2 separate regions of the Homo sapiens genome follow, and region 2 is linked to region 1. The links are contacts of gene promoters, found by promoter capture Hi-C in human tissues and cell types (Jung and others, 2019). All regions are on one chromosome and are shown on one strand. The core of a region is centred on a gene start or on the middle of the fragment in contact, and the rest is flanking DNA. Distances in the headings are between cores, read along the strand shown. Region 1 holds the start of INTS9 (integrator complex subunit 9). Region 2 overlaps UBXN8 (UBX domain protein 8).

What was found. Contacts are between HindIII fragments. The study calls those that stand out against the background at their distance.
Region 2: a contact is called between a fragment that was not itself captured here and the fragment with the promoter of INTS9 in region 1, in 1 of the 25 tissues and cell types used here (dorsolateral prefrontal cortex).

What each region holds. Positions count from the first base shown.
Region 1 is chr8:28,886,806-28,893,940 of GRCh38, reverse strand. INTS9 (integrator complex subunit 9) reads left to right here and starts at 3,972. Exons shown (of 17, transcript NM_018250.4): 1 at 3,972-4,067. The coding sequence starts at 4,059. It overlaps HMBOX1 (homeobox containing 1), which reads right to left and starts at 3,546. Exons shown (of 10, transcript NM_001135726.3): 1 at 3,263-3,546. RefSeq lists a silencer at 3,304-3,423 and enhancers at 3,076-3,632, 3,794-3,993, 3,633-4,189. The HindIII fragment of the contact is 5,500 bases long and covers 1,576-7,075 here.
Region 2 is chr8:30,744,973-30,751,561 of GRCh38, reverse strand. It overlaps UBXN8 (UBX domain protein 8), which reads right to left. Exons shown (of 8, transcript NM_005671.4): 2 at 44-166. Among named protein-coding and RNA genes, the nearest start is that of UBXN8, 4.1 kb to the right of the region's middle. The HindIII fragment of the contact is 5,910 bases long and covers 2,385-6,589 here.

The sequences.
Region 1 (7,135 bases), core at 2,723-5,222:
AATTCAGGTTTAAAGAGCTGTATACAAAAATAAGAGAAGCAAGAGCTACAATGAAATGAACAGAACTAAATTGCACGGGAGCCCTAAATGTGGGATGTGCTGAATACAGTGTACAGGAGACTCAAAATACACAAATTAAGCCTAAATATTCCCAATGTATTCAATATCTATGAAACAAGCAATAGAATTCCAATCAACACTTGCCACAAAAATTGCCATAAGCTGGTTGCTATTTTTTAAATGATGTAACAATGACAGATTTGTTGCCACATATTTTGTAACTTAGGAACACTGAGCTATTAAGTTTCTATTAGCGATGTTTTAACTGAGGATTTGGGCTAGAAGACTGAAATCTGTTTGTACAGCAGTGAAAACGAAGCCTCACTAAAGGCATTCAACTTCCAGCTAAAGGCTCCTTTCCTTGATGCGTATTTGTGACCATACATAGTGTTCACTAAATGCAGTAAACTAAACTAGCAACAGATTAGTTAAAAGCAGCTTAGATTTTCAACTTCCCATAATACAGGCAACATCTTTAGAAGCAATCACATTAAAATAAATGTGTCTTTCACAGTTACGGGATGAAATTGTAAGCTGGACAAGCACCCATGCCCTGGTTTTCTACTTTATTTGTAAACCATATGACTCTCACATGCTGAGAATGTTTTATGCTTTAACCTGCAGTAAAGGCTTTACATCATTTTAATGCCCAGTACTTAAAATGCAACAGAATCACCCCCAACAAATGCTGGGAATATATTTGGTTTACATGTAATGATTTTGATCCCACTAGTAGCCAGAAAAAGTTTAATGAATGCTTTTTCAAGTAAATAACTTTGCACTTCTATAGACAAAACAAAAAGAAATTTTGAGGTAAGGGTAGATGGAAGAGAAAACACTCGTGTTTTTCCAATTTAAAATATTAACAAACATGTTGGTTTTTTACTTCTAAAATAATTATTAAACATTTTTTAAAAAACTCCATGACTATTATAATATGCTTCAGAAAAATAAAACAAAACACTCCGTTAAGTAGTTACGTAGGATTTTTCTCTGGTTTTTGCAAAGTAGTGTTTCAAGTTAAGATACAAGCTTAAAACAAATGATTCTGAAAATCCTGGTCTATCACAAACTAATGGCTTAGTTTTGAATCAACATATTGTATATTCTACATCTGAGATTTAGAAATCACATTTTTTTTTCTATTCAGGTCAATTGAAATATACATGCTACCTCACTCTTTCAGTCCCCCTTATCTGTGTGAATGACCAACAGCAAAAATTTTAAATCAATGGTTAGAGGACATATCATAAAATTACACACTCTATCAATGTGGTTTTCAGTTATCATAGAATCTAAAGGTCCCTTACTGATGATAGGTGGCAGATTCAAGAATTGATAAGTTTGGGGAATATATTCAATTCTCAACAGTCGAAATAGAAATTATGCCAATTTCTTTACTTTAAAAATCCGTTACACTAAAAAAATTGTCACATAAGGATTATTGAAGAACTTAATAAGGAAGTACAAAATATGACCTTAAATTCTCCTAGTGTGTTATTAAATATTAAAAACTGTGAGAAATAAGAGATGTTGCAATCCTTTCCTTTTTAACTCTAATTGAAATTTGAAAAAAAATTTAGAATTCAAATTTCCCAACTTTGACTTAGAAACATAATTCAGCTAGATCAAGCAACTTAATTGCACAATTTTAAAATAAGTTTAATGCAAAGCACTGCAATCCTGATGTGATAATTACCTGCAGCATAAATGCAAAATAATAAATGCATTTAACGATGCATTTTATGGTAAAACCACAAAAAGCACAACCATATTAGCACAAACTAAATAAAAAGACACAGGCGGTATTATGTCCAACAGAAAGAGAAATGTTGTACGAAGCCAAGAAAGAAAGGAAGGACTTAAGGAAGGAAGGAAGGAGGGAGGATAGGAAGGAAGGAAGAGGGAAGCCAGAGGTTTCTGTACCTGCAGGATACCAGAGAAATGAGCTAGTCACATCACTCTACCTTATATGATACATGGGTGATTTTTTTTAAGCTTCAGCGTAAATAAAAACAGTAATCACTTTATACCATTCAACTTTACATAGTGTTATCTTTAATGCCAACTGCATTCTTCCCTTTACTCACCCAATGCTTCTTCACTGTTCCATTCCACCAGCTTTCAGGCAAATGCAAGACAGAACAGGGTGGAGTAGAAGAAAAATACAAGCAGCGCCTTTCGGCGCACCCCCTCTCCCGCAAATAATTTCCAACAGTTCCTCCTGCTACGAAAATAAGTCGCCCTATCTCCAGATACATAACAGACATTCCGTCTCCTTAGTAGACACACACAGACGCGTACACAATCCAGCACTCCCGACCCCCACCCCAGGCCCCCCGAATCTTCAGCAATTATTCATCTAATTCACACGAAGACAAGATACCTCTACCTACTGTTTCGGGGTGAAGGTGGGTGGAGGACGCCTTTCAAAGTAGCCCCAATAGTGTAACCAAAACACGGTTCCGGAATAAAATATTAAGAAACACTTTTCCTTTCCCACCTATCTACCGACTTGAGGATGCAAAAAATCCATCTCCACATCACACCATCTCTACAGTTCTCGTGGCTGGAGTTTGGGGTGGAGATTCGTCCAGGGGAGGGGGCGGAGGCGAGTGGCAGAGTGTGAGCGGGCGACGGGACACAAGCGAGTTGTTGAGCCCGGCCGCCTCGCACCACGTCGCCAGCCCAAACGCCCAGCACCAGGACCTCACGCCCGCCCCTCAGCCCAGGCCCAGAGCGAGCGAGGACTCGCGCTGTCTAACTTCCCATCTACAGACACCGCTCCAAGACGAGCAGAGCACACAAGTACACGTCACACAGTTTAAACACACTTACACACCCCAAACAAACCAACACACCTGCAAATCACCTCACAGTTTCCAGAACTCCACACCGGAGACCCCACCTCCAGGATTCAAACCTTCCGCTCATCGTAGAGGAAACCAGAAGAGTTGGGGGGCAGTCGACGCCTTTCCAGGACCGGACCCCACGAACTGCCCCACCCCACAGCCCGCGTCTGGGTCACCCACTCGGAAGCCCCCTGCTTCCTCCCTCCTCTCAATCCGGCCGCTTACGAGACCCATCCCCAGCGTCCGCTCACTTCCTCCCCAAAACCCCTCCAAAAAAATTGTTTTAAGTGAAGAGAAAGAAGTGAGGAAAGAGACTTGAGGTAGTCCGGCTTCAAAACCGCTCGACTCACCTCAGAATCCTCGCTGAGTTCTCTCCGCCCGGCACAGCCCCCTCCCCAACGTCCCAGTACGAAGGGCTGAGATAGGGAGGAGGGAAGGCGGGAGGGGGAGGGGTGTCTTCCGCGTGGGGCGCCCGTCGGGAGGGGACTGGGGAGGGGTTGAGGCCGGCGCAGGAAGAGGAGAAGGGGGAGGGGAGGCCCCTATCTCCCAGTCTCCCCCTGAAAAACCTCCCTTGTCTCAATCACATCAGACTGACTGTCTTTGTCTGGCTGACAACCGCCATATTGATATCAACAGCCCCTCTCCCACCTGCTGCCGCCGGGCGTCCCTGGGAGTTGTAGTTCCTGCCTCCCCTGAGAAAAATTGCGGAGCCCGGCGCCTAGAGGGCCAAGGGAACTACAACTTCCGGCAAGCCCCGTGCCCATCCGCCTTCCCTTTGGGAGGAGGGAAAGGGGAGTCGGAGCCGTCGGGACTACACATCCCAGAACACCATGGGCCCCAGGCCCGTAAGGAAGACATGATATCATGCTGGGGTGGAGAGGGAGGATGCATTGGCGGCTGGGATGAATTTGAGCTGACGGAAGGAGGCGTTCGGAGAGGAAAGGGAGGAAAAGGAAAGGCGACCACAGTTCCCATGATGCCTGGAGGGGAGACTACATTTCCCATTATTCCCCTGGAAGGGACGTGAGGATGAAAGACTGCAAGTCCCGCGATGCTCTCGGCTGGCAGGTGGCGGAGATTGCACCGGAAGACGCTTCCTGGGTTTGAGGAGTTCAGTGACTGCTATTGAACCACCAAAAGTCCATTATGAAACTGGTGAGTCTTCGCTCCTAGGTCAGAGGGCAAAGGTGATGCTATAACCTTTTGGACCTCTTTTTTTCCTACGTTGGGCAGGGAATCGTCGCACGGGAGGGGTAGCAATTATTGAGCTGGAAAGTGGAGTGGGCTAAGGAAAGCTGCTTTTTGTTGTTGAGAAGGTTTGAATTCCCTCTCCCCCACCCCATCCCTCCCAGGAGGTCTTTTTTCACTCGTTAGTGGGTCTTTTTGTTCAGACAAGAGGTTGACTGTCACAGTCCTTCGCCCATGAACTCTGTGGGCTCTGTTAACCAGGTTTGGACGTCCTGGTTCCCACGTGAGGGTTATAATAGGCTGTTAACAATCCGTTTCCATTCGATTGGCGCTTGAGTATCCTGTCTCCCTACTGTTGTTGAGACTGGCTAGATTTAAGCAGACAGTAAAAAACATCCAGCAGAACGTAATCACTTATTAAATATCCTGTTATATAGACTCCTCACTGCCCTTGGAATTCAGGACGAGGTCAGAGTGTGGAGAAGTTGAGTCTTAAACCCTGCATGGGATTTAGATGGGCAGAGAAGTGTTATATGGTATTCCATTCTAAGACTGTAGGGACTTCATGAGCCAAGGCTGAATGAAGCGTGCTCGGTATACCTGAAGTCTTAACATCACACAGCTCAAGCACCTGGTTCATGGAGGCTCCTCAGACCTTTGATTTGAGCCATTTGACTCATTGTGCACACAAGTCTAACTAGTTTATTCCAACTCGATTCAATTAGTTAATAACATAGTGTAGAAAGGCAGGTGTGAAACACTGTTTCTCAACCTTTTAAAACCCATATTTGTGCAGCCAAGTTATTGTCAAGCTTTACTTGAGGCAGGAGAATCGCTTGAACCCGGGAGGCAGAGGTTGCAGTAAGCCAAGATCGCGCCACTGCACTCCAGCCTTGCAACAGCGCGAGACTCTGTCTCAAAAAAAAAAAAAGTTTATTTTTTACCATTTATATAATTATCTGAACATGCTTTGCCAAACCACACAACACACCTACCCTCATCTTGATAATCATTGTGCTACAGGCATATATTCTGCAAAGCCAGCTGTTTTCTGCGAAGTCAGAGAAAGTATTAAAAGTGGATTCAATTCCGAAATTGTCCCCGTATAAATCTGTTTATATAAGGGGAAGGATGCGGGTCACTAAACCTTGAGAATAGCAACTTACCCCTGGGTCAGTGTGTTACACATTTAATAATGCAGAATTAAAAGTCATAGCCGTTGCCCTACAGAAGCATGCAACCTAAGAAGAAGATAGAAAAGTAAACCAAAGTTATTATTTATTTATTTAGAGACAGGGTCTGGCTTTGTGGGGCCCAGACTGAAGTGCAGTGGCGCGTTCTCAGCTCGCTGCTACCTCCACCTTTCGGACTCAAGCGATCCTCTCGCCGCGTCAGTCTCCCCATATAGCTGGGAATACAGGCGCGCACCACTGCACCCTGCTTATTTTTTTTGTAGAAATGGGGTTTAACCATGTTGCCCAGGCTGGTCTCAAACTCCTGGGTTCAAGGTATCTGCCCACCTCAACCTTCCAAAGTGCTGGAATTACAGGCATGAGCCACCATGCCTGGTCCGAAATTATAATTCACTGTGTTCATGGTGAAATAGAGGCGTGTTCAGGGTTTTGGGAATTCAGAGAACAGAGGATTGGGGAGGTCAGGGGACAGCTTCCTGGAAACGTGACTCTTGAACTGATAAGGATAAGTAAGCCAGGGCCTTCCATGAAAGAGGTCAGCTTATAGGAGCATAAGAGCTTGGTACCTTATTGGCTAAAGCATGGACCCTGTGTTCTCAATAAAGAGCAAATTATATTTAATGTGTTCAGTTTAAGAAGGCAGGGAAGTGTGAAATAGTTTTTCCCATAACAACTCATTAGTGAGGGTATCAAAAAGCCAGGGTTTACTTTACATATATTTTAGTTTGCTCATAAAATCCTCCTGCTTAATTTATTTAGAAATATGAAACCGGGGATTGTAAAAAAGTGGAAAATTATTTTTTCCATTAAGAACCAAAGATGTCTCAGAGGAAAAGGAAGTATTCTATTGATACTCATACTCCCTCTTTACTTTGCAACTATGTATTACATACTAAAATTTATTTGGTAGTTGATAGATAAATGTAATTGAGAATTCCCATCAACATACCAAAAGCATTGTTGCTCAGTAAGTTAGATGGGTGTGTCATGCCTCCCAAATGGTTGGAATAAGTCCTCCCATGGCCTAAAAGTTTTAATTTTGTGTACTGCTTCAGAAATATGTAATAGGCTGTGTTTTAAATTTATAATTATGAAACAAAAACACATTTTGTTTAGCATTTTCTCATTTTTGAGATTCACTTTCCAGAGTACCCTTCCCACACACAATCTATGACCACCTCTTATTGATTCTGCTTCCTAAATGCAGCTTTCTTAAATAGGTTCTATTTCTCTCCAGTCCAACTAGAATACTGTCTTTGTAATCGGAATTCAACAAGACCCCTTATCTGGTCTCTCTGCATTCAGTCTTAACCCTCTCAAATTCATTCTTTCCTCTGCATCCGGAAGTTGTTTTAATTGCAGAGTTCCATGAAACCCTCTCAGTATCTTCCTTTGCCCTTAGGATAACCTCCTACACTTAACTTGGTTGAATATGTTCCATTGCCTGCCTCACTCTTTTTTGCCTGGCTAATTTCTTCATATATTTCAGATCTCTGTCTAAATAACACTTCTTCAGGGCCTCGTTGAATTAAGTACCCCTGTTATATATTTGATGGCATACTTCCTATTTGTAGCACTTGTAATTATTGGCGTGTGTCTGTCCTCCCCCATGTAGATTCTGTGTAAATAATTGGTAAATAATTTCTGAAGGTTTATCAAGGTCTATGGATACCCTTGAGAAAAGATTAAAGAGTGAAATTAAAGAGATTACAATAAGCAGTAACCATTGAAGTAAAAAAGGAATGATAGCTACCTTTTATAAAGCAATTATTGTGTGCCAGGCAATGTGCTAAGTATTTGCTATGTAGTTTCCCATTTAATCCTTTGATCCAGGTGACAGTA
Region 2 (6,589 bases), core at 4,090-6,589, 1.9 Mb before region 1:
TGAGTAGAATGGTATAAAAGGGTAGAATAAATAATAAACTTACCCTTCAGATAAACTTGGGGAGATTTAAATGAGTTAAGCCATGAGGTAGTCACAGAAATAGTTAAAGTAAGAAGAGCAAGCAGTAGCAAAATCCGGCCACAAAGCAAAAGAAAATCCTTGATTCCTGATAAAGGAAAAAAACTAAAATTAAAATTCAAAACTTTTTTTTTAAGAGATGAGGTCTCACTATGTTGACTAGGCTGGTCTCGAACTCCTGAGCTCACGTGATCCTCCTGCCTTGGCCTCCCAAAGTGCTAGGATTATAGGCATGAGCCAACATGCCCAACCCAAAACATTTTTCTTGATACTCCTAATAAATTATAACACATTAGAAGATTATTTGTACTGGAAAAGTATAGTAGAAGTTATACAACTGTCTTATGATTTTGTTCATATAATAGTCATCCCTCAGTATTCATGGGGTATTGGTTCCAGGACTCCTGAGTATACCAAAATCCACGGATGCTCAAGTCCCTGATATAAAATGGCACAGTGTTTGCATACAGTCTATGCTCCCACATACTTTAAATCATCTATAGATGACTCATATACTACCCAATACAATGTAAAGGCTCTATAAATAGTTGCTATACTTTATTGTTTATGGACTAACGACGGGGAAAAAAGCCTGTAGATGTTCGGGACAGACAGACAAACATCCATTTATCCATTTTTTTCCTGAATATTTTCTTTTTTTTTTTCCTTCTTTTTTTAAGAGACAGGGTGTTGCTCTTCTTTTTTTTTTTTGAGACAGAGTCTCGCTCTGTTGCCCAGGCTGGAGTGCAGTGGCATGATCTCGGCTCACTGCAAGCTCTGCCTCCCAGGTTCATGCCATTCTCCTGCTTCAGCCTCCCGAGTAGCTGGGACTACAGGTGCCTGCCACCACGCCTGGCTAATTTTTTGTATTTTTTAGTAGAGACGGGGTTTCACCATGTTAGCCAGGATGGTCCCGATCTCCTGACCTCATGATCCGCCCGCCTCAGCCTGCCAAAGTTCTGGGATTACAAGCGTGAGCCACCGTGCCCGGCCGACAGGGTGTTGCTCTTCTTGGTCTTGCTCTGCCACCCAGGCTGCTGGAGTGCAATGGTGAGACCACGGCTCACTGCAGCCTCAACCTCCTGGGGCTCAAGGAGGGCCTCCTGCCTTAGTGCCCCCAAGTAGCTGGGACTACAGGCACGTACCACCACACCCGGCTAATTTCTGTATTTTTTGTAGAGATGGGGTCTCGCCATGTTGTCCAGGCTGGTCTTGAGCTCCTGAACACGGGCAATCTGCTCGCCTCGGCCTCCCAAGGTCCTGGGATTGTAGGTGTGAGCCACCACACCCAGCCCTTTCTGAATAGTCTCAATCCACAGGTGCTTAAATGCTCAATGTGGAACTCAGGGATACAGAGGGTTTACTGTACTCTCCTTTGGGCATTAAAAAACTCATGATGGTTGTCATTTCCAGAACAAATGTACAGAGCATAATTCTAGAATAAACACTATCTTGGGAATACAGTTACAATTAGAGCGATCAGCTACACTATATTATGAATATCAGTAATGTATAAGTTGTAGTTTCCCATATAGAGAAAATTACATAACTAGAAATAAAACTGAAAATATCATCGTGTTGGTCAGGTGTGGTGGCTCACACCTGTAATCCCAGCACTTTGGGAGGCCGAGGCAGGCAGATCAGAGGTCAGGAGATCCAGACCATCCTGGCTATCACGGTGAAACCCTGTCTCTAATAAAAATACAAAAAATTAGCTGGGCGCGGTGGCGGGTACCTGTAGTCCCAGCTACTTGGGAGGCTGAGGCAGGAAAATGTCATGAACCTGTGAGGCAGAGCTTGCAGTGAGCCAAGATCGTGCCATGGCACTCCAGCCTGGGCGACAGAGAGAGACTCTGTCTCAAAAAAAAAAAAAAAGAAAAAAAGAAAATATCGTGTCAAATTCTAGTTCTATGATAATCTCACTGAAACACCAAATTCTTATTTCTCACAAATTGTGCAACTGTGTGCTTCTTTATTTCTTGACATTTAGTCACTTGTAAGTAAAATTACGATTTACATGCTTGCGGAGGAAAAAGTAAAAATATAGTATTTGGTCTATTTATTTATTTATTTATTTTATTTTTTTTTTTTGAGACGGAGCCTCAGTCTGTTGCTCAGGCTGGAGTGCAGTGGCGCAATCTTGGCTCACTGCAACCTCTGCCTCCTGGGTTCCAGCTATTCTCCTGCCTCAGCCTCCTGGGTAGCTGGGACTACAGGCATGCACCACCATGCCTGGCTAGTTTTGTATTTTCAGTAGAGATGGGGTTTCACCACGTTGGACAGGCTGGTCTCAAACTCCTGACCTCAGGTGATCCGCTGGCCTCAGCCTCCCAAAGTGCTGGGATTACAGGCATGAGCCACCGCACCCAGCCAGTATTTGGTGTTATATTAAGAACCAAAGTGAAAATTATTTGAGCAGAAATCTAACTACCTACTTTGCATAATACAATTTGGCAAATGTTGAGGGACAGGAAACAAAGCTGGGTTAAAAATGATTTCCATCCTCTTGGAATTTTTACTCGTTTTGTGTTTTTAATTTTCAAAAGATAAATGGCAGAGATACAGAGGAATCCAACGTGATCAAGGCTGGTAATTAGTCAATTAACTAAAACTTAAAGAAGGAATCAGAAAAACATATATATAGGCCGGGCGAGATGGCTCATGCCTGTAATCCCAGCACTTTGGGAGGCCAAGGCGGGTGGATCACCTGAGGTCAGGACTTTAAGACCAACCTGGCCAACACGGTGAAACCTCCATCTCTACCAAAATACAAAAATTAGCCAGGCATGATGGTGGGTGCCTGTAATACCAGACACTTGGGAGGCTGAGGCAGGAGAATCACTTGAACCTGGGAGGTAGAGGATGCAGTGAGCAGAGATCATGCCATTGCACTCTAGCCTGGGCAACAGAGTGAAACTCTGTCTCAAAAAAAAAGAAAAAAACATATATAGACTTAAATGTTTTATTTTAAACTGAAAACAGATAGATGTATATTCTTGCCTTTTTTTTTTTTTTCTTTCAGATGGCCTCTCACTCTCTTGCCCAGGCTGGAGTGCAGCAGTTGATAACAGCTCACTGCAGCCACAACCTCCAGGGCTCAAGCAGTCGTCCCATGTCAGCCTCCCAAGTAGCTGGGACCACAGATGTGGGCCATCAGATAATATATATATATTTTTTCCAAATGATCCTCCTTTCTTGGGCATGGTGGTTCATGCCTGTAGTCCCAGCTACTCAGGAGGCTGAGGCAGGAGAATCACTTGAACCCAGAAGGCGGAAGTTGCAGTGAGCTGAGACTGCACCACTGCGCTCCAGCCTGGGTGACAGAGTGAGACTCCATCTCAAAAAAAAAAAGAAAAAAAATTTAGCTTAAGTACAAGTAAAATGTATTGACAATAAAGGTTTTTACACAGTAGAAAAAGACAAGGCTAGTTTTTCAATATATGTCTGAATATTAGTACAGGCATAACCAGCCCTGCTGCTGGTATAAAGTATGATGTGTAAATCAGACTTAAATGCTGTTAAGAAATAATTATTGGAAGCTCACTATCAAGAATCCAAAGGTAGCAAAAAAAAAAAAAAAAAAAAAAAAGAAAAAATATATATTAAAAAAAGAAAACTTGGCCTCCCAAAGTGCTGGGATTACAGGCATGAGCCACCTTGCTTGGCCCAATATTCTTTAAAAACCCTAGCAATTTAAAGTTGCTTAGAGAAGAAGTATGACTTTAAAAAAAAAATCACGGCTCCTCCAACTTGCCAGTATTAACTGTTGATTCAGGTGTTATTCAATACAACACATAATTTAATCTATTTTATCTCTGGCCAATACAAAAGTAGTTTAATATCTAGAGTATTGGTATGTAAAGAAACCATTGAGGCCAGGCGCAGTGGCTCACGTCTATAATCCCAGCACTTTGAGAAGCTGAGGTGAGTGGATCACTTGAACTCAGGAGTTTGTAACCAGCCTGGGCAACATGGTGAAACCCCGTCTCTACTAAAAATACAAACATTAGCCAGGCACAGTGGTGCACACCAGTAATCCCAGCTAGTTGGGAGGCTGAGGCAGGATAATGGCTTGGACCTGGGAGGCGGAGGTTGCAGTGAGCAGAGATTGTGCCACTGCACTCCTGCGTGGGCAACAGAGTAAGACTCTGTCTCAAAAAAAAAAAAAAAAAAAAACACCACTGAGGTGTGGGATTTATGTTCCATACTACTGCTGTTCGTTCTAACAAGCAATTTGCAAACATCACATGAGAATATGAAAGAACTATATTTGTGTGTATACCTTTAAAGAAAAAAAATTTTAAGGTTTTTTCGTTTTTGTTTTTGTTTTGAGATGGAATCTCACTCTGTTGCCAGGCTGGAGTGCAGTGGTGTGATCTCGGCTCACTGCAACCTCCACCTCCCGGGTTCCAGCGATTCTCCTGCCTCAGCCTCCCAAGAAGCTGGGACTACAGGCGTGCGCCACCATGCTCCGCTAATTTTCGTATTTTTAGTAGAGACAGCGTTTCACCATGTTGGCCAGGATGGTCTCGATTACTTGACCTCATGACTCGCCTGCCTCGGCCTCCCAGAGTGCTGGGATTTTTTTGTGTACTTAAACTATAGACCCCATAAGCAGTGTACTTCAACGTGAGGAACTGGCCTTAAAATATTTAGCTTAGTCAGGGCGCGGTGGCTCACGCCTGTAATCCCAGCACTTTGGGAGGCCGAGGCGGGTGGATCACAAGGTCAGGAGTTGGAGACCAACCTGGCACAACATACCGAAACCCCGCCTCTACTAAAAATACAAAAAAATTAGTCGGGCATGGTGGTGCATGCCTGTAGTCCCAGCTACTCAGGAGGCTAAGGCAGGAGAATCGCTGGAACCCAGAAGGCGGAAGTTGCAGTGAGCTGAGACTGCACCACTGCACTCCAGCCTGGGTGACAGAGTGAGACTCCGTCTCAAAAAAAAAAAAAAGAAAAAAAAAATCTAGCTTAAGTACAAGTAAAATGTATTGACAATAAAGGTTTTTACACAGTAGAAAAAGACAAGGCTAGTTTTTCAATATATGTCTGAATATCAGTATAGGCATAACCAGCCCTGCTGCTGGTATAAAGTATGATGTATAAAACAGACTTAAATACTGTTAAGAAATAATTATTGGAAGCTCACTATCAAGAATCCAAAGGTAGCAGAAAAAAAAAGGAAAAAATATATATTAAAAAAAGAAAACTGAAAAGAGGAAACAATCCAAAGGAAACAATCATTCGTTCAGAATTCTGAGAAAGAAGCTAATCCCATGAAAATTTCAAGAACTAGATAAAGATGCTGCCAGGAGCCCAGGTGCAATTTATAGAACCCTTGTCCCTAGTTCTATTAAACTAGACACTGGTAAGTGCTGGGAATACAAAAACAAATTCCATTTGGTCTCTGCCTTCAAGAAGCATATTTCTGGCTGGGCACGGTGGCTCACACCTATAATCCCAGCACTCTGGGTGGCCGAAGTGGGTGGATTGCTTGAGCCTAGGAGTTCCAGACCAGCCTGGGCAACATGGCAAAACCACATCTCTGCAAAAAAATACAAAAAATAAGCAAGGCATGGTGGTGTGGCCCCTGTATTCCTAGCTACTCAGAAGGCTGAGGTGGGAGGATCACTTGAGCCGGGAAGTCCAGGCTACAGTAAGCCATGACCGTGCCACTGCACTGCAGCCTGGGTGACTGAGCAAGACCTTGTCTCAAAAAATAATAAATGAGCAGAGTAGGGGTGGATGTTGAAAAGACAAGGGAACAGGTGAATTGCGGAAATGGTGAGTGTGAATTCAACATTTCTGATCCTTTGGATAAAGGTCTTGTTATATTCCAACACAGCTTGAGTGAGTGAGAAGCTTCAGGACAGTCTTTGTACATTTTTTTAAAGCATTTTATTTTCATTTCTTATTGCACGCAACATTTCTAGGCATCTGACTCCTTGTGAGCAGGGAGAAAATGTGGAGAAAGAGAGGGAGTACACAAAGCCAAGTTTCATTATGGTCTCTAACTTTAGAATTGACCTTAAAAAGGGAGACAGACATGTAAACTGATCACTGAAATGTCCAAAAATCAACTCATGATTCTCAGCATCTCCACAGTTTTTCTTTCCATTTCCCCTTTACCAGTAGCACTACCAAATACCTAGGTTTGCTCAGTCCCCCATGAGGCAGTCGTCCTTGAATCCTTCCTTTCCCTTGCCCCAAACATCAACCCATAAACAAAGCCTGTTGGTTGATCCTACTCCGTCAATATCCCAATTCTGTCTACATTTCATCTCCTGTTATTGTTCTAGTCCAGGCCATCATCACCACTTGTCAACTTCCAAAGCCTGATGTGCCTCACTGCTTCCACCATAGCTTCTGTCCAAAGCATTCTCCATACAGAATCGAGTGACCTTTTTAAAACTTAGGGAAGTCACTTAACCTCCCTAAATTTTAGTTCCCTCAACTGTAAAATGGGGATTATAATAGTGCCTACCCTCCTCTGATTGCAGTGCAGATT